Regions from separate parts of the Homo sapiens genome. Here region 2 is linked to region 1. Evidence: promoter capture Hi-C in 16 types of primary human blood cells and fetal thymus (Javierre and others, 2016). All regions are on one chromosome and are shown on one strand. The core of a region is centred on a gene start or on the middle of the fragment in contact, and the rest is flanking DNA. Distances in the headings are between cores, read along the strand shown.

Evidence for each region. Contacts are between HindIII fragments. The CHiCAGO score rates a contact against its expected background, and 5 or more counts as called.
Region 2: a fragment that was not itself captured here is called in contact with the fragment with the promoter of PTF1A in region 1 in 1 of 17 cell types (M1 macrophages); the score reaches 7.4 in M1 macrophages.

The regions. Positions count from the first base shown.
Region 1 is chr10:23,189,673-23,196,734 of GRCh38, reverse strand. It overlaps PTF1A (pancreas associated transcription factor 1a), which reads right to left and starts at 4,423. Exons shown (of 2, transcript NM_178161.3): 1 at 3,421-4,423; 2 at 2,490-3,031. The coding sequence starts at 4,204. The coding sequence ends at 2,829. RefSeq lists an enhancer at 779-1,534. The HindIII fragment of the contact is 14,718 bases long and covers 1-6,974 here.
Region 2 is chr10:23,711,545-23,718,606 of GRCh38, reverse strand. It overlaps a transcript of KIAA1217 not described here. Among named protein-coding and RNA genes, the nearest start is that of OTUD1, 280 kb to the right of the region's middle. The HindIII fragment of the contact is 263 bases long and covers 2,539-2,801 here.

The DNA of each region.
Region 1 (7,062 bases), core at 3,174-5,673:
CAGGAGGGGGTGAGATGTTGGGGGAGAGGAAGAGGCAGCACCCCAGGCCACCTCTGTTCTCCAAAGACTTTATCAAGCCCACTCCAGGGCTCCCTCCCCCGACCATGGCTAGCAGTGGAGTCTGGACCAGTGGAGAATGATTTAACCAGCTCTCCAATAGAGATCATAAAATTCAGCCTGTACTGGGCTTGCAGCTTCTTTATTATGCTAAATGGACAAGGGCAGCCAGGGCAGACTTTAAACTCTTTCCCCTGGTGGTCCCAGGCTGGGTTTCAGTGCAGGGGATGATGGGTGTTCAGAAGGGCCGGGCTGGGCAAAGATTCTCCATAGCCATCCAGGAGTTTGGCTTACTCAATTATCTTCATATGCATCTTTTTTAAAAGTTGGACGAGAAGTGTGGACTTAGAAGGACCATTGAATACCTGTCACTCAAACTGCCCTCACATGATCCTTCCAGTGCCAGGCCGTGTTTGCCGGCCAGAGATGCCCAGGGCCAGAGGCTCCCCAGCCTGGCTCTGCCACAAGGAGAGCAGCCCCTGCACCCAGCGCAGCTCGGGCCTCCCTGACGCCAAAGAAGACTCTGAAATGATACGTTTGTTCTGCCTTTACTGCTGCATTTTTTTTAAAAAAAAGAATTGCTACACTAGAATGAATGGATTATGAGTAAATAAAAAGAAGCTGTCAGTCTCTTTGAAGGTTGTGCTTAAAGGGACTTGCCAAGTCAGGACAGAGAGTGACAAGATAGAGACCCTGGTGTTTTGCATGCTCAGCTCGGTTCTTCCGCTTCATCTGCACCGCACTAAAGGTTGTGTTGAGGCATTGAATCGCAAAAAAAAGTGGCACGCAAAATAAAAGGTGCCACATCACAATGATTGCAGTGTTTTAACTGCGAGTGCCACACTGCCCAATCCAACAGAAACGCAGGTCTACACAGCCGAAGAAAACGGTACAATACTTCCATAACTTATAATTAAGTTGAAGTCGGCCAAACATTTGACTTTCTAATGAGTGTAATGAGATTACATGCCTGATGGAAGCATTTGTGCAAAAGCAACTTTCGTGTTTAATGAGGCCCTAATAAAGGACAAAATCGAATTATTTTCTCTCGTTCTGAAATTCTGTCTCCAGTGTGAAATCTTCTTTTAGGAGGAGTGGAGGGAGAGGGCGCGAAGGCTTAAAAGGGGTGAGAGGGTCCACGGCCAAGGGGCTCCCGGGAGCCTTGCGACCCAGAATCTCCGCGTGTCTGGCCAGGCCGCGCTGCGGGGTCGGGCTCGCGGCCTCGCTTTAATTGCTCTTGGACGAGGTCCATGGCACCCGCGGCGCGCGGGGAACCCCTCGGTGGGTCTGAAACTAGGTTAAAGCAATTAGCATGCTGCCAACATATTGTCCTGCGGCAGGGCCGTGAGTATTAGAGGCTATCCGCAATTGTACCTTCGCCCACCAGGCCGCTGCGGCCCACGGAACCACACCCCGCCTGGGCCAGGCCTGCGCCGCACGGGGCTACGGTGCCACGTCAATGAGCGCGTCTCCAGTCCGCGCTCGCGCCAACGCCATCTGCGCGCGCGCCAGGCCTCAGGGCCCAGTGCCGGCGCCCCGGCTCTGGCGGGCAGGGGAGGACGCCCCGAGAGCCCGGGAGGCGCTCTTGGCCACAAAGGAGACAAACCCAAGCCTGGACTCCCAGGCTTTCTGGCTAAGCGACCTCGGCCGCGCCCTCGCTCTTCTCCCCTTCGCTAGGGGGCTACCCTACGCCCCCCGCCTCAGGCTCGCCTTCTCCCCAGGTTGCTGGCCGAGGAGGGCCAAGTTCTGATGAAGGCAAAACGAACTCAGTTTTGGAAGTAAGCCTGTTGCGAAGGTGGCAGGGGTAGCGGGCGGCTTCTTCCTACCTTACCTAAAAGACCCTGGATTTTGTTGAGTGGCCTCCGAGTGGTCTCTAGGCTTTGGCACCGTAGCCTGTCCCATCTCCTTTGTGAGGAGTAAGCCTGAGTTCCAGGTACCTGATGCTGTTGCTGCCGAAGAGGTTGGTCACAGGGCAGCTCAAGAGTAGCCCCTTTCCCAGCCAGTGGAAGCAGAAAGGCCCATTCGCTTAGCCCACTAGCTCCCTGCTCCCACAGTGCACCGCGCGCTCACTTTTATACACCAGGAATAGACAACGTAGGGGTGACCTTGGGTAAGTCAAATGTCATCTCTGAGCCTTAACTTTACCATCTGCAAAATGGGAACAATAAATACTCCAGGATGTATTTGCATAGGGTGTTTGGAAGGTGGCCCAAAATACAGACAAAAGTTGCTGTGTAGGGCAGGCGACCTAGATGAAGTGCTGTCATAGAAAGTTGAGGTCTAATCCTCTAACCTACCCACCTTTAGGCTAAGTCTGAAATGTAGTTTCTTACTAAAAAGCTACACTTTGAGTCTCTGGTTTGGTTAATTTTTACTAAGTTAATTCTTTTTAAAGAGTATCTATCAAATCATGTACTCAAAAACCTTCAGGAAAAGGTGTAAATAGCATTTATTGACAACGCTTAGAAATAAACCATATCTGGCAATAAATAAGCAGGACGTTTTCTGGCCAGAGTTCTCCCAACAACACAGAGTTCAGGAAAATCATAGGCTATTGCATATTTTCAGAAAATCAGGATAAGTTATATAAATTATATATTTAAAAAGAAATCATCTATTTCATCAACTCAACAGGATAATAAATAGATAAATAATAAACAGTTGATTGCCATTCGAAAAATTTGATTCTTAAATTACATTTACATTATAGATATTTACATGTACAATATGCACAGAGACATAATCAGATCTTCAGCCGAGTCTGGGACTTCTCAGGACACAAACTCAAATGGTGGTTCGTTTTCTATGTTGTTGAAGGAAGATTTGCTGTTGAGTTTTCTGGGGTCCTCTGGGGTCCAGACTTTGGCTGTTCGGATAATATTTTGTTCCTTGAGTTGTTTTTCATCAGTCCATGAGAGAGAGTGTCCTGCTAGGGGAGGGAGGCCATAATCAGGGTCGCTGGGGGAGGGGGACCCTGGACAGGTGAGAAGAGAAAACAGACTGTGAATATCCAACCACATTCCCATTGGTCCCATCAGGTCCTTTAGGACCCTTTCCTGGGTGCTCTCCGGTTATACTAGAACCACCCTCTTCCTCCACACTTCAAGTCCCCACCGTCCCCTCCCAGGAATCCGAGGAGCTGCAAGTCTGGCGGGGACGCGCGCCCTTGAGAGCCGCGGTCAACGTGGCAGAAAAATAAAAAAAAAAAAAAAAACGAGAAACGCGAGCTCGCATTCAAGTTTTTCCGTGCCCACCGACAATCCGTCGGTCCGACTGTCTGCTTGGCAGTCAGCTCCCCCAGCCCCTCCGGAGCCTTCGAGTGCCCGACCCCTTCTCCCTGAGCTGGGAAGCGGAAGCACTTACGGGTGCCCCGATGGCAGATGATGACCTTCTGGGCCTGGCTGCCCGGGCTGTCCCCGCCCAGGCGCCCGCCGCCGCCCGGCCCCCCGCAGCCGCCCGCGCCACCGCCGCGCAAGGGCAGGTCGGCCTGCACGAGCTCGCTGAGGAAGTTGATGTAGCCGATGGCCAGGCGCAGCGTGTCCACCTTGGAGAGGCGCTTCTCGTAGGGCAGCGTGGGGATGTGCGAGCGCAGCCCCTCGAAGGCGTCGTTGATGGACTGCATGCGCCGCCGCTCGCGCACGTTGGCCGCCTGCCGCAGCTGCTGCAGCTCCGCCTCGGAGCGCACCCGCCGCCGGCGCCGCGCCGCCGCAGCCGCCGCTCCGCTCAGGCCGCGCAGCCGCGCCCCGGGAGACAGTACTGCCGCCCCGGCGCACGGGTAGGCCAGGCACGAGGGCGGCGAGCCGGGCGAGTAGGGGAAGCCGCCTGGGGGCGCCCCCGTCTCGCAGCAGTAGCCGCCGCCGCCGCCGTCGTCTGGCTCACCGAGGCCCCCCGAGGACGGCGGGGCGAGCGCTAGCGGGGCGGCCGGGGGCGCGGGCTGCAGCAGCAGGCACGCCCCGTCGCGGTAGCAGTACTCGTGGAGCTGGTGGCTAAGGAACTCCACCTCGGCCTGCTCGTCCGCCAGCAGCTCATCGCCGTCCTCCAGGGGGTCCCGTGAAGACTGGTCGGTGAAGAAGTCGTCCTCGTCGAAGTACGAAGAAGGAAAGGCGTCTAGGCCCCCGGGGAAGTGCTCCAGCAACACCGCGTCCATGCTCGCCGCCGCAGTGGGCAGCGGGACTGCCGGGCTGCGCGTGTTAGTTCTTGGTGAGTTTCTAAGGCCCGTCCGAGCCCCTCCCTCCCGGGGCCCTGGCTGGGGGCAGCTAGGCGGCCGCCGGGCTGCCCGCCCCCGGGCCTCCCTGGAGTGCCCGCGGCCGCTGCGCTCTGGCCCGCGCTCGCGCTGCGCTGGGGAGGGCTGTGGCGGACTTCCTGGAGCTGAGGGCCGGCACGCGAGGATTCTTATAACAACATCCATAGGCGCGTGCCAGGGACCCATCGCGCCAGCCAATCAGAGCGCGGTGTGCCGGCGGCGAGGGGGCCCGGAGGCGCGGCGGTGGGCGGGGGTGGGGGGCGTTTTGCTCCCTTTGGGAGCTCCTGGGGCGAGGAAAAGGCGGGGTCGCGCGGCCCGGGGCTCCTCGCACCGCTCTCTTCCCTCTCCTCTGCCTCTGCATACTGGATTCTGTACCTGCCCCGCGTGCGGCTCCAGGGGCACCTGCGTCCCGCGGTGCCCGCTGCGTACCCGCGCGCGCTGAGCAGCGCCGGCTCCTTCCGCCCTGGGACTGGGGCAGCCGCGCGCCGCGTCTACACGCGGCCAGAGAAGTTCCTAGGGGTGCGCGCCGGTGGCCCAGACGGCGAGAGCGGAGCCCGCGCGGCGATCGTCCTCCTCCGCGGCAGCCTGGGCAATCTAAGGGTGCTGCCCTCAGGGACCAGGTGGGTGCATTCCGCCACCCCCTTATCCGAGGTGCGCGGGGCTCCGGCCTGGGTTCTGCTGGGGGCTTCTGTCCCATCTCTGGACTTTTCAAGGGCTTTTGCACAGTTTGCAGAGTATATGCGGGTGTCATTGGAAGGTGATCCGGGCCCACTCCCACTGCGTTCCAGACGCAACACGGGGGCTGGGAGCGCACCTATGGGACTCCGCTCTGGAGCCTGGCTGTGGTGCCTGGTGCGGGTCCCCAGCGACATCGGCTCAGTGGCTGCCTCCCCTGCCCTCCCCGGCCCGGAGAAAGGAATGGGGAGACGGGAGGGGCAGCCCCCAGAGCAGCTCAGCGGGGCGCGTTTCTTCTGAGAGCAAATCTAGACCCTAGGGATTCTGAGCAATAAACTGGATACAAAAGGAGTCCATTGAATCGTCTGCTCCGGCGCAGTCCGGAGGGAAGGCATTGAAGTTAAAGGGCAGAATGTGAATCGTTTTCAAAGCCCGAGTCTCTCACCTTTCCGACTGGCCACAGGGACCATCCCTGAATGACTTGTTTTTTTCTTTCTCGACCTTTCTTTTCTGAAAAAAAAAAAAAACACAAAACGTATGCAGCTCTGCCCCAAGACAGACTTTATCACAGACTGCGATGCAACGTGAATTCCTCTTTTTAAGAGCAACAAAGAAACACTTTCAAGGTCTGGGCAATTCCGGTTAAAAGCCAGGCTGCAGCTTCCACCCCGGGAGAGTTCAGAAGCGCAGCCATCGTGCGTATTCTCTCTACAGAGGACTGAAAGGAGTCGTCCTCCTGGGCCGCTTCCTTTTTCAGGCACTTGTCTCACTAGAGGCTTCTGTTGGGTATTCAGACGCCTCTCAAATTCCAAGTCATGCCTCTTCAGATTAGTGATTTAAATACGCTTCTTGGTTTTAGACATTGCACTGTAATTAACTGAATTGAGAACAAAGAGTTAAACCAAAAGATATATAAGGTTAGAAGGCCAGAGATTGCCTTACCTTGAACTGCCAACAACCCCAAACAATTTTAACCCAAGGACTGACTGGTTTTCAGTAGTTTTTTCCTGTGTTAGTTTCTCAGCCTTCACAGTGAAGGAGTCGTTCACTATTTGCATATCCTTAAAGGCAAATATGGACAGTTTCCCGGTGATAGAGCCTGAGCTGTGATTCTCTGCAATTAGATTTCTCTTTCTGACCTCAAAGGAAGGGAAGGGGTGTGTGTGTGTGTGTGTGTGTGTGTGTGTGTGTGTGTGTATCAAGGCCAGAGATCTAGCCAGCTAGTGATGTGCACCCTCCCCTTCCTCACGTAGACTAAAACTAAGTGGAAACATGCCCGTGCCCGTGGGTCAATGTGAAGACATGCAAGAGTAGCAAATTACCCAGCTTCAAAGCCTTATCGGAAATATTGACAACTATCCACTGCAGAGAAGACTAGAATTGAGCCTACAAAGTCTCTTTTCAAGAGGCTGAAAGGCTTTCTCTGGTGGCTCTCTAGACTGGTGGCTCTTGAGAAACTGTGTGTCATAGACATGTGGGTAGGTGGAGGACTGGGAGACAGGGGAGTGAGTGTGAATATATGGGTATCTTTTTTTTTCTTTTTTTGGGGGGAGGGTGGGGGTTGGGGGATAAAGTCTTGCTCTGTCGCCCAAGCTGTAGTGCAGTGGCACGATCTCAGCTCATGGCAACCTCCACCCCTCAGGTTCAAGCGATTCTCCTGCCTTGGCCTCCCGAGTAGCTGGGATTACAGGTGCCCGCCACTACGCCTGGCTAATTTTTGTATTTTTAGTAGAAACAGGGTTTCACCACGTTGGCCAGGCTGGTCTGGAACTCCTGACCTCGAGTGATCCACCCACCTTGGCCTCCCAAAGTGCTGGGATTACAGGAATGAGCCACCGTGCCCGGCTATATATGGGTATCTTTTTATTCAATATGATTTTAGCAATCCACTTCCACAGAAAATCATCTGACATTTTTGATGAGTTTGCAGAAGAGTTACAGAGAAATTCACGTTGAGCACCCAGTGAGCTCATGGGAAATTCATTGCTGCTAGCAAGCTTATTGTCTTATGAAGGGGGCAGAACTAGCCTGCAGGCTCTGGGTGGCTCCTAGGGGTGCATGAATGAGCATGGGATAGGAGGAACAGA
Region 2 (7,062 bases), core at 1,421-3,920, 520 kb before region 1:
TTTATTCCGTATCACAATAGTCTTAATTTTATCCACCCACATCCTCTTCTCCCCGATAAAGGATTTATCAGCAACTAAAACATTATGCAATTTTAAAACTGTTTTAAGCTTGTGAGGAATAACAAAGCAAACAAAAAGATTTAAACATGGAAAAAAACAAACTTGGGACACATCTTTCATTATACAATATTTCCCTCTGACACAAAATTTGCTTAATAAACAAATGGCTCTTTGGAATATTTCTGCTATTCTATAAACTACATTTAAATATTTCCAAAAAGAAACAAGGAGAAATACAAGTGTTCTTGTAAGTACTGAGATATTTAATAGATGAAGGACCATTTCAGAAGCAGTCACTTATTTTAACTACTGTGGCCCCACTTTCTATTGATGACATGCAAGGTAAAAAGAGAGGAAATTCACATATTAGGTTGGTGCAAAGGTAACTGCAGTTTTGGCCATTGGTTTTGGAACTGGCAAAAACCGCAATAACTTTTGCACCAACTTAATAGATTCCACACCTACTGAATCATAAGCTAAGTAAGCTAAAATGGAAGCAAGGAGGACTTAGACGAACCAATAGAAAAGGCTGCTCATTTTTACACTAAAATATGATTCAAGAAAATTATGTAATTGCTATAAAAATGTATTTTGGAAAGATACATCTATTTTAAAGGGATGTGTGTATAATGTTTTATGATCATTGCTATGAGGACCTGAGTCTCATTGTTAGATGAACTGAACTTTTCCTGAACAAGTGGTTTGTTTTCTGATTTTAGAAAAAGTTAATGATGTCACTGATAGTTTTTTCATCTTCGTTTTGGCTCAGAGTTCAAGTCTGAGGCTCATGTTGCCAAGGGTAGAGGATTTCTAGCATACATTTTGCATACTAATTTCATCTTAGGTTTATTGTTTTTCTTATCCCTATTTCTACTGTCATTGAATATATCTTTATTGTCTAGACTTAAATTCTATTAGGAATAATAAGAACATTCAGAAATCAATCTCCTGAACCACCCCACCTGCTACTGGACTTTTGATTTTAGAACTCCAACCTTAGGGGATGTATTTTCAGCAATGTATGTATATTCCATGTTGGGGTGACTTTAGGGTGACCTATATTATTCTGGAGAGTATGGCCAAAACTCGCCTTGTGAGTTCTCCAGTGGCAAAACTCCTACCTCATAGTGTGATAGTGATGCATAAATTAGACAATCCAGGTAGAGTTTAGCATGCTGCCTGGACTATAGTACGTGCTCAGTAATTATTAGCTCTTATTAGCAATTGCATTTTAATAAGTCCCGCTATGAGCTTAATTCAGAGCAAAAAAAAAATCTAAAAGCGGAATTCAACCTATTTCATTTAAAAATACATAAGCACAGGGGACAACCAAGTAGTTCTTAATACCAGGAAGCATTTTAAGTTCACGGAAACCTAGAGATGACAAAAAGGTGAAGACGTAAAGATAGTAAAGCAGGTAACTCTTTCAAAAAGACAGGCTGGGAAGAGAAGGGGCAAAGTAAGGCAGGGGTTTAATCTTGAAGGAGAATGTAGTTTTTGTGTGGTTAGTTGTTTAACATGGATTTCTGTGCATTTTCTTAAAATAAGTGAAATATAAATATAGACTATGACAGGCATGGGAGAGTGACAAGTATAAATAAGCCTTGTATATAAGAAGTTTAAAACATGAGAAAAATGAATAATTAGGATCCAAAAGAACAATAGATGATGACAAAGAAAAAACGTGATGTAGTAAATTGGGGTCTACTTTATAAAGCAATAATTCAAAATCTATTTGTCCAGAAAGAAATCTTTAATAAACAAAGCCACAAGAATGTTTTTTTGTTGTTACATGCATATAAATATATTTGAATATGCACAATAGAGGCTGATCTAAAAAGCTGCTCCTAGTAAGGTGGACCAGCTTTTCCATTGATTTATATCATAAAATCACACCCAGTCTTCTGTGTGTTCAGTCCAGGCTGGAGGTGGGGAAGGGAGGGAGCCTCCAGAGGGAGAAGTTGGTTGTAAATATGATACTTGGAAAGATCCAATCACTTTAATTTTATTCAAGGAAAGACAAAGCAGGTTCACACTGTAAATGCAGGTAGGTATGACTGTATATAGGAAATTTATGTCTTAATTAATAATTGGTGATTTAAAACTTTCACATATTGCATTTATTTAGCCTAAAGGATCCCCTAGAATACAGATACACACACAAACTATGCTGATGAGTTTACATATTTAAAATTACTACAAAATGTATGCATAAGAAACCAATGCAAAGGAAATTCAATGATCCAAATTAAGCCCTATATGTAAATCAGAGCTTGGTTTTAGATAGATTTAAATAAAGCTATTGTTCATTTATTTCATAAAGAGAAACTTTCCAGATGCCCTAAGCATAGTTTTGTTTCATATTGTGTGCACAACATCTATTATGTTCATATATTTTAATGACACATCCTCATCTCATGGAAGTATGTACGTAAATCTCTTGCATGCAGCGTTAGTCAGAACGCTTCCGTAAAAGCTTATTTAAGGAATAAAAGGAATAATATTGCCTTTCAAGACTGAAACATGCTATTTGTATCATTTGTGCCTCAATTTCTGCTTTCTCATCACTGTTAAGGCAAAAATTCGACCATTAACTTGCAAATTGGTGCAATGTGTTTCCCTTTAAAAGAAAACTATTTCTTTTTTAAAGATCATGGCTTTTAAAGGTCATTTTAGTGAACTGAGTAATGACATTTATCTTTTAAATAAAATGTTGTAAAAGTTAAAGTGTCATGTAAGCTTTGCTTTTCTTTCACGGGCAAGTTTAATTTTTAAAATATGGGTAATGTGATTACTTCCTTTAGAATCAGTTCTACCTAATATTTAAAAATATAATATTTGTAGATGAGAAAACAAATCTATCATTTTAACACTGAAATTCTCAAATTTACATGTTAGTCATCACTTCATGCTCATTTTAAATCTCTCTAGTACATATTTGAAACTTTACATGGTGAGTCATAAAAGAAATGTAAAATCTTATAGCTACATCAAAGAGACTCTAAAATTGATACAACTTTTACCATGAGGTCTCATCATACTCAATAGTAAAAAGGTAATAAGCCAAAATAAGTTTTACTTACATCACATATTCTAATGGAATCTCAAGCTCCTCAGAAACTATTTATGATCTAATACGCATAACTGGAATCACAGTCCTTTCATCAATTTTTTTCACTTCTTTACTTCCTTCATTGGCTTAACAAGTGTTGGGCTAAACACCAAAGGGATAAAAATGAAAAGATTTTGTCTCTTCCATCCCCCACTAGGGAAAGGTAATCATGCAAATAACAGTTGCAATGAAATAAAATAACCAAGTCAATACACAGAGCTATGGCAGCCCAGGAGAAGCTCACCATGGAGTAAGAGGAGGCTAAAGTAACTCCATCTTGAATGCTAATCCGCCATTTTGACTTCAGATTAACCCCAATCCCAGGAGTGCCTCTAATATTTCTGCCTTATTTACTGTTCCTTTTGTAAACCAGTACAATCTCGATGTTATCATCATAAACACATACTTACCATATATCCTGCCCTTTGGCAAATTATAGGCTATGATGCACATAGCGTTCTTGTCTTTCCATGAAGGGTCAACTTTAATTGTCCTGCACATTCCCTCTAGAGCTAAAGCACATATACCCTTTTTCTATGGTATATAAGCTCTGGGTCTTGGGGTAATGGTGAGGAGATCTACCTGTCTTATGACTGCCCAAGACCATGCTTCTGCCCATGAGTTCCCCAATAAACCACCCTCTATTGACAAACTGGATTTGTTTGCCCTACCCTTTGGTTTCTCAGCTCCTTTTGTATTTGGGGTTCCCTTCGCAAATATGGCCTTTTCACAAAACAGAATAGAAAAACGACCTCAAGACTTCTTGGAACAGTCACAAAGGGAGAGCAGGAAAAAAACTTTGTAGTCATCTTTAGTCCAGAGGTCAAGTGAGGAGGGAACCAAAGAAGAAGAATATTTCAGGCCAGTGGACCAGCAGGTGAAAAGGCAGGAATCTTGAGGCAGCATAGCGTATTCAGGAAAGTCCAAGTTGCAATTGATTGATTGAGGAAGGACTCTACCAAAGTCTTAGTGTCGCCCTGGCTGCAGGATATGATGGAAGCTACCCTCTGCAGAAATTTGCCCAAGTTCTCATCCTTGCTTGGCTTCTCTTCCTCCCCTGTTCTACTTTCCCTCACTTTCCAGGAGTCTATCCTGGGAGCAATTTCTTCATAAATTACTTGTGCACAAAAATTCCTCTTAGGGTTTGATTTCTGTGGAAGCTGCCCTAAGACAATGGTTAGTAAGCAAGTTATTGCAATAGTTCCAGCTGAAACATCATGAACGCTTCAGCAATATAATAACAAACAGGATAGCGGGGAAGGGGAAATATGTATTTAGAAGGTTGGTCTTAGCAACTGATTGGATATGGAGAAAAGGTAGAAGTCTAGGATATGTTCAGATCCTGAACTTGGACGACTAGCTGGCATCAATCCCTTTGCCAGGAAATATAGAAGGCAGAGAAGTTCTGGTGGAATGAAAAAAGACTAATAATTTCAGATTTGCACATATTAAAGGTGAGGTGCCTATGAAACAGCTGGATGGGGTACCTAAAATGAAAAGTGTATAAGCAAGTTTGAATTCAGAAGAAAGTTCTGAGCTAAGCAGATGTGAATTAGGTTTGAAGTCAAGGTTATAAATGAAATTGTCTAGAGGTGGAAATAGGTGATCATGAGGCATTATTTTGCTGGGGCATACAGTAATCTAAGTTGACTCTTTTTTAGGATGTCTTCAACTCCAGAATTACATCACATATTTTGGCAAAAATTAAAGTCAAACTTTATTACAGATACCAAAAAGTTTTATTGGGTGGTCTTATGTAAGGATAGCTAATAATGATATTAATATCACCATTCAAATCAACATAGGCTCCTAAGACACAAAGAAATTAAACCAAACCTTAGAAACTGACTATTTTAGAGCATAACTTCTATATTAACTGAAAATATGATGTGTAGAGTGGTCAACACAATTTAAATTATTATTCCAAAGAAGCTGTTAAACACCAAAAGGACCATGATAATATTTTCTAACATGCATTTTTAGAGAAGAACATTTTGGTCCATGATAGTCTGCCTAGGTAGAAACTGAACTAATCCATTGGAAGTAAAAAAACAAAATCTCTGATGATAAAACTGAAATGATTAGTAACTAGGAGCTGAAAGCAATAGCTCTTGATATTGGCCTTACGGTCTTAGAAATGGAGAAATAACTCAGTATGATAGTTAGCAGCAAAAAGTCAAGCAAAAACAGTGTTACCAAACCAAAACCTACTCTGAATGGGCCTGAAAAAGTCATCCTGGCTACTGAGCAGGTACGATAGCTTCAAACAGTTCTATTCAGTGGCTTCCTAGTAATCTGCAACCTGCACTCCTATTTTCTAATACCTCAATTCATCTACAACATACTCCTCCCCAGCTCTTTTCCATACTCTTAGTTCATGGCTTGAAACCTTGATCTGGCATTCTACACTTTCACCCTCTGAGACTCCACACTGAACCAAATGCCTGCAAGCCGCATTACATGTTAACAACTCCACCCCCTTGGCTGCTTCAGGTATACCAGAAGCAATTCTGTCTTCTTAAGAGGCAATTAAAACTGAAAAGAGGTAATATGAAAATCTTCTAAAAATACTTGATTGAGAGCAATAAGAAACACGGCATAGTAAATTTATTCTATTCCTGCATTATTTAATTAACTGGTATTTATAGCTATTAGTAATTAGATAACAGTGACATGTACAACTTTATCCTGTATTAAAAAGTAGAACTAATGGCATGATAACACTTGATCTTTCCCATAAACAGGTTCAAAGGCTCTATGAAAAGAAAACTCAACTGCTCCTGACATTTGCAATGAATATTAATTTGGCTTAAATTATTTGTCAAAAGCTTAAAAAAAAGTGCCCTTGAAATAAAGCAGGTTCAAAATAGATACCTGGTAAGTTATAGTTAAATTACAGCACAATCACCTAAAACGTATCCACGAATATTCAATTTCCCATCTGTCTCCTATCTTTTCTGTACTGAGTTGACTGCACTGCTCTGCAATAACTCAGAGTTTGCCAAGATGTTCATTGACTTGGCTTATAATGGTAGCCAAGTCAATGAACATCTTGGCTTGCTGCTGACTATCATACTGAGTTATTTCTCCATTTCTAAGACCATCTCCCAGTCTTGGCAAACTCTAAGTTATTGGTGAGGGGAATGCAGGTGAGGGGAGCATAGGGCTAGGGATGTAAGGAGAGATGCTTATGTTCCTCTTTCTACCTTCCACCCTCAAACTGCAGAGAAGCAAACTTCTACCATAATTTTCTCTTCACCTCTGTGCCAGGTATTTTGATACCCTGTACAGTTTGGCCCTTGACTTTTAGAGGGGTGAAGCCTAGAAACTACATTTCTTCCTTGCCTGTGGGGTCACTAGAAGAGTCCACCATTGAGAATGTCTCACATGAGATTTGGAAGGTGAAGGTCATTCTCTGACAATGTCTGCAGACAGGCAACAGAAGTGGAGTCTGGACTATAGACTTTGGCATCCTCCTGTGACTCACTTAGGGAGCATGTTTCTCTGCGATTCCCACATTTTAGATTTCCTGAAAGTGATCATATCAGGCTTCGTTTCCCATCCTTCAAGGGTTGTGTGAGCCTCTAATTCCTGGAGTTAAACTTCTCTCCACTAAGACACCTTAATTAGCTTCTGTTTCTCTCACTCGTCTTCCCCAGGAGAGGAAGGTGGTTGATTTCATCTGTTGAAGCTTGACATGAACTGGACCATGCTTTCCTGGTGAACAGGGTTACTTTGTCCTTCACTTTCTGTGATGACACCCAGAAGGTTCTCCTTTGTATCTTGTTCCCTTGTAATAAGCACATCTGTGCAGGTCCCCAAACCTTCTACAGTAATTTCCTATTGCTGCTGTAAGAAATCACACACTTACTAGCTCAAAAGAACACAAA